Linked DNA regions of Homo sapiens: region 1 is linked to region 2. The links are contacts of gene promoters, found by promoter capture Hi-C in blood cells and fetal thymus (Javierre and others, 2016). All regions are on one chromosome and are shown on one strand. The core of a region is centred on a gene start or on the middle of the fragment in contact, and the rest is flanking DNA. Distances in the headings are between cores, read along the strand shown. Region 1 overlaps RBM26 (RNA binding motif protein 26). Region 2 holds the start of EDNRB (endothelin receptor type B).

Evidence for each region. The method cuts DNA at HindIII sites, captures the fragments that hold promoters and counts their contacts. A CHiCAGO score of 5 or more calls a contact.
Region 1: a contact is called between a fragment that was not itself captured here and the fragment with the promoter of EDNRB in region 2, in 1 of 17 cell types (M0 macrophages). The highest score is 5.1, in M0 macrophages.

What each region holds. Positions count from the first base shown.
Region 1 is chr13:79,397,155-79,399,883 of GRCh38, reverse strand. All of the region lies in intron 1 of RBM26 (RNA binding motif protein 26), which reads left to right. Among named protein-coding and RNA genes, the nearest start is that of RBM26, 7.7 kb to the left of the region's middle. The HindIII fragment of the contact is 469 bases long and covers 1,156-1,624 here.
Region 2 is chr13:77,917,416-77,920,115 of GRCh38, reverse strand. It overlaps EDNRB (endothelin receptor type B), which reads left to right and starts at 1,285. Exons shown (of 7, transcript NM_001122659.3): 1 at 1,285-2,025. The coding sequence starts at 1,543. RefSeq lists a cis regulatory region at 919-928 and promoters at 1,180-1,294, 284-1,356. The HindIII fragment of the contact is 2,812 bases long and covers 1-2,099 here.

The DNA.
Region 1 (2,729 bases), core at 141-2,640, 1.5 Mb before region 2:
TTTTCTGGATTCACTTATTTTAATTTCATTTCTCCAAATTATGCTGGCTTGAAATTTTTTGGCTTCTCCTTCCTCCCATTCACTTAGTCATGAGGTTCTCTCTTAATAATCCTTACTGACATTGCTTAGTAGGGGGCTCACACTCCGTATCTAAATGATTGCAGTTTGCTTCCTAACAAATCTGTTTTTATCTCTAGGCCTTTCTCCCTTCCAGTTCTTCTGACATGGATGCCCAGCCTTGTTTGTATCCCATTGCTTGATCAAAACCTTCAGCATTCCCAGATAATAAATTGCATACTTTTTAGCTTGCCTTTAAGAAAGCTAATGATTTGCTTTAAATTATCTTTTCCATTTATATCTTTCTACTTTTTATATGAGTCTTAATTTCAGCAAAGCTGAACTTTCGTGATTCACTGTCATTTTTTTTTATTGTTTCTTTTTTCTGAAACTTTACTGTTTCTTTTTTCTGAAGATTAGTAGTGGGCACCATTTATTGAGTGCTTACTATTAATATATGTTAATTGTTATACATTCATTGTGTGCAAGATAGGTGTTAGGAAGATGAATTAGCATACTTTATTCATAGCTAGTAAGTGATGGAGACAGGATCCAAAAGAAGACATTTTGATTCCAGAGCCTTGTTGTATTATGGTGTACTGTCTTTATATCCTTTCTTTGTGTTGAAGTCAAAGATCAAGTGTGATTCCAGTTCTTCCAGAAAGCTGCCTATGATCTATCCAGCTGGGTGAAGTGACTCCTCCCACCATGACTCCTCTCTCTCAGCACTGGTTTCAGTTGTCATGACACTCATCACTTGTACATTAAATTATTTAGTCGTGTTATTTTAGCTTTATTATTAGAGTCTCAGGCCCTTGAAAGCAGACTCCAGCTCTTAAGATTTAACTATGTTCCTGTTCATTATATACATTATCTAGCACAATGCTTTGTGTGTAGTATATACCTGATTATTAAATGCGTTAGTTGAAATTTCAAGTTTGTGTACCTAAAACCAAGGGAAGAGGCAATAATTTGGGTAAAACTATAGAATCTACCCAACTTCAGAACAGCAGATATGTGAGCTATTTGAAGATTAAGTAGTCTTTGGGTCTACTTCTTTCCATTTTTACTCCTAGCATCTTCAGTTTAGGTAAAGCTTAAGTTCAGATTTTTTTTTTCTTTGAGAGGGAAAGGTCATTGAAGTATATTAATATTTACTTGTTAAAGTATTATTGAATGTTGCTATGTGCAAGATTGCTGTCTCCATAGAGCTGCACATAAAAGAATTATAGTAATTCTAACCTGATGAATTTTATAGCTGGTAGAAGAGTTAATAGTCTATAATTATTGGTTAAAACATTTTTCTTTATTTCTTTATCCCCTTAACTTGTGATAAATTGACTTTCATAATCACATTTTGCTGCTGCAATCTTATTTGGCCTTTCCATCTGAATGCTGAGTGGTTAAAATGCATTTAGCACTTTTTTTCTGTATGTTTTAGCACTTCCTTATCTTTGGCTGACAGTGCTTCTCAAAATTATTTTACATGCTTAAACTGAGAGATAGGGACTGTATTATGAGCAAAATGTAAAATATTCCCATGTTAGTTATGTACATAACCTAAGCTTGAGAATGACTAACTGAAGCTTGAGCTAAATAGCTTGTAAGATTTTTTTCCCTCTTCTTGCTTCCTTTGTGCCAGAGAAAAGAATGAATGAGAGAAATGAATGAATGGTAAGCTGTTCCTACTAGACTTACTCATTACTCTCCTACTACTTTATTTCTGTGGAAAAAGTCTTTTCAATTTACATGCAGTAACTTTGAAATAGGTAAAAGTTTATTTTTAACTTAGGGTTTTATTAGTATCTTTTATGTGTGTATTAAATAATGGAGTAAGTTCAAGATCTGTTACTTAGTGATTCTTCTTGAGATATTTTACCTATGTAGAAGCATTTCTTTTGTTATTTTTTTCTGCGACATGTTTTACAAATGCTTTTAAAATTTTGATTTTCTGATTTTTATTGTTAGTATATAGAAATATATTTGTATATTGACGTTGAATTCTGAAATTTTACCAAGTGTACTTATTCTAGTAGCTATTTTATAGATTCTGTGGAATTTTCTTCTACCAATCTCATCATCTATGAGTAATGACAATTTTCTGATTTTTATACCTTCATTTCTTTTTTTTTTTTTTTTTTTTTTTGAGATGGAGTCTGGTTTGTTGCCCAGGCTGGATTGCAGTGGCGTGATCTCAGCTCACTGCAGCCTCCACCTCCCGGGTTCACGCGATTCTCCTGCCTCAGTCTTCCGAGTAACTGAGACTACAGGCACGTGCCACCACACCCGGCTAACTTTTTTTTTTCATTTTTAGTAGAGACGACAGGGTTTCATCGTGTTAGCCAGGATGGTCTCGATCTCCTGACCTCATGATCCGCCTGCCTCAACCTCCCAATATACCTTCATTTCTTATCATGCTGGCTAGAAGCAATAGTACAATGTTGAAGTAGTAAGAGTGGACGTCCATGTCTTGTTTCCAGTCTAAAGGGAAAGAGATTAAATGTTTCAGTATTACTGATATTGGCTCTAGGTTTTTAGTAACTGCCTTTTACCAGATTGAGAATTTTTTTCTTAATTTGCTTAATATTTTTGTCATAAAAGGTTATTGTTAACTTGGCTAACTTCTTATTTCTTTTTCTTTTTTTTGAGACAGAGTCTTATTCTCTCACCCA
Region 2 (2,700 bases), core at 36-2,535:
AGAAGAGCTGTACTGGGGAAAATGAGGAGTACTTGTAATCCTCTCTCGGGGCAGTGAGAGGGCCTGGGAAGAAAAGATCGAGCTGTTCCGTGTTGGGGTTAATGTTGGCTTGAAATGAAACTTCAGGGCAAAATGAAGCAGAGCAAAGAGCAGCGCCCACAAACCAACCTTAAATATCACAGCGGCGGAACATTTACCTGAAAGAAAAGTGACACTTGGCATTAAAAGTTCAATTATCACGTTCAGTGCAGAGCCTTGTTCTAGTCTGGAGCTGCCGGGTGTCACATGGTGCGTGATAACTTGCCCTTGATTTGGGTTCATTTGAAGAGCGTAGAACTCTAACAAATAAACAGCCTTTTGGGACCTGTCCCCGGACGAGGACTGCCCCCCTCCCTCGGGCAACTACTACTGATGCTGTCCAGGCATCGCCCAAGGGGAAAGGTTGCAGCGGGGTCGGAAGGCGCGGGAGGAGTCTGGCGGTGATTGATGGGAAGGGATGAATGAATAAAAGTACTTGTCTGATGGCAGCAGAGACCCCGAGCAAACGGTGGAGGCTACACTGTCTGGCATTCTCGCAGCGTTTCGTCAGAGCCGGACCCGCCTGCAGCTCAAGGGAGGCGTGCTCCTCTCCCAGAGCAGGCTGGAACCCAGCTGGGTTCCGCCTCCCGGGAAGGTGGTCTCCATTCGTCGCTCTGCATCTGGTTTGTCAGATCCGAGAGGTAAACATTCGGGCTTGGTGTTGAATTAAAATCATTGATTGAACCTTATTCTGGGGCTTCGGTTTGGCTTACTAGTTTGGGATTTTAAAAAAATAAAAATTAAGCCTATAGAGAGGGCAAATTAAAATTAGGTTGGGTAAAGGAAGGAGCGCGAGTGTTTGAAGCCGTTTGGAGGGAACAGCGGTTTCCAAGTTCCTGCTGACTTGAGAAGTCTCTGCGGGTTTCCGAATCTCCGGCGCACTCCTGGGCGCGCTGCGGGAGCTGTAGCTCAGCCAGCCAGGGAGTAGCGGCTTTCATCCGCCGGGAGGAGTCTTTCGAGTTCAATCGCGGGGTATAGAGGTTCCCCTGCGGGGCAAAATGCAGAGCTTGACACAAGCCCTTGGCCTCTAGGTGCCTTAATTCCGCGGTTCCCACGCACGCTTAACTAAGACGTGTCTGTATTCCTCCCGTTACGTGAAAGAGTTCGGAGCTTTGCCTGGGACCCCCATCATTCCCTCCCTGGCACACCCCTTCCAGAACGCCCCGCCCCACTGCATATTATTTACCCCTCCTGGCCACGCGGGGGAAGAAAAACAGCTGAGAGGGCATCAGGAAGGAGTTTCGACCCGCGCTGGCGAGTCATGAGCGCCAAGTTTCCCACTGGCGCGCAAACTTGAGTTACTTTTGAGCGTGGATACTGGCGAAGAGGCTGCGGGCGGTATTAGCGTTTGCAGCGACTTGGCTCGGGCAGCTGACCCAAGTGTCCTGTCTTCCTTCCTCTGCTTGTCTCTAGGCTCTGAAACTGCGGAGCGGCCACCGGACGCCTTCTGGAGCAGGTAGCAGCATGCAGCCGCCTCCAAGTCTGTGCGGACGCGCCCTGGTTGCGCTGGTTCTTGCCTGCGGCCTGTCGCGGATCTGGGGAGAGGAGAGAGGCTTCCCGCCTGACAGGGCCACTCCGCTTTTGCAAACCGCAGAGATAATGACGCCACCCACTAAGACCTTATGGCCCAAGGGTTCCAACGCCAGTCTGGCGCGGTCGTTGGCACCTGCGGAGGTGCCTAAAGGAGACAGGACGGCAGGATCTCCGCCACGCACCATCTCCCCTCCCCCGTGCCAAGGACCCATCGAGATCAAGGAGACTTTCAAATACATCAACACGGTTGTGTCCTGCCTTGTGTTCGTGCTGGGGATCATCGGGAACTCCACACTTCTGAGAATTATCTACAAGAACAAGTGCATGCGAAACGGTCCCAATATCTTGATCGCCAGCTTGGCTCTGGGAGACCTGCTGCACATCGTCATTGACATCCCTATCAATGTCTACAAGGTAAAGGGCGCCTGCTGAAATCATGGTGGGCTTGAGGAAGGGGGCCTGGTTGGAGACGGGGAGATGAGAAAGCTTGTAGAGGGAGCTTCCCTTTAGCTCCCTCTTAAGGTTCTGCCCCTCCTAAAAGTCAGTAATCTTTGGAACCAAATTCCATTTGGTTCTGTCCACTCATAAAAGTCAGTAACCATTGGAATAAAATTCCATTCAGGTCTTCAGTAGACCTCTGCTAAGCTTAGGACAAGCGTAGTCCCCAGTCTAGCAATGTTAGTATCACTTTGGGAACTTGGTGCACATGAAGATTTTTCTGGCCTCACCCCAGACCTACTGAATCAGAAACTCTGGAGTGGAGCACAGTAATTTGTATTTTAACAAGCCCTTTATGTGATTATGATGAACTGTAAAGTTTGAGAACCACTAGTCCTGAAGGATCTAGTCCCTAAGTGCACCTAATGGGGTACATCCTCTAGTCAAAAGTGTGTGGTCCATGGACAGTCAGCATCAATATTACCTGAGAGTTTGTTAGGAATGCAAGGCTACCTCAGACTTACTAAGTTAGAATCTGCATCTTAAGATCTTCATGTGATTGATATGCCCACTAACTTTGGGAAGGACTGTTTTGGAAGACTTTGAAAGTAGCAGGTACAAAGTAGGTATTTAGGAAATAAATGGCCTGGA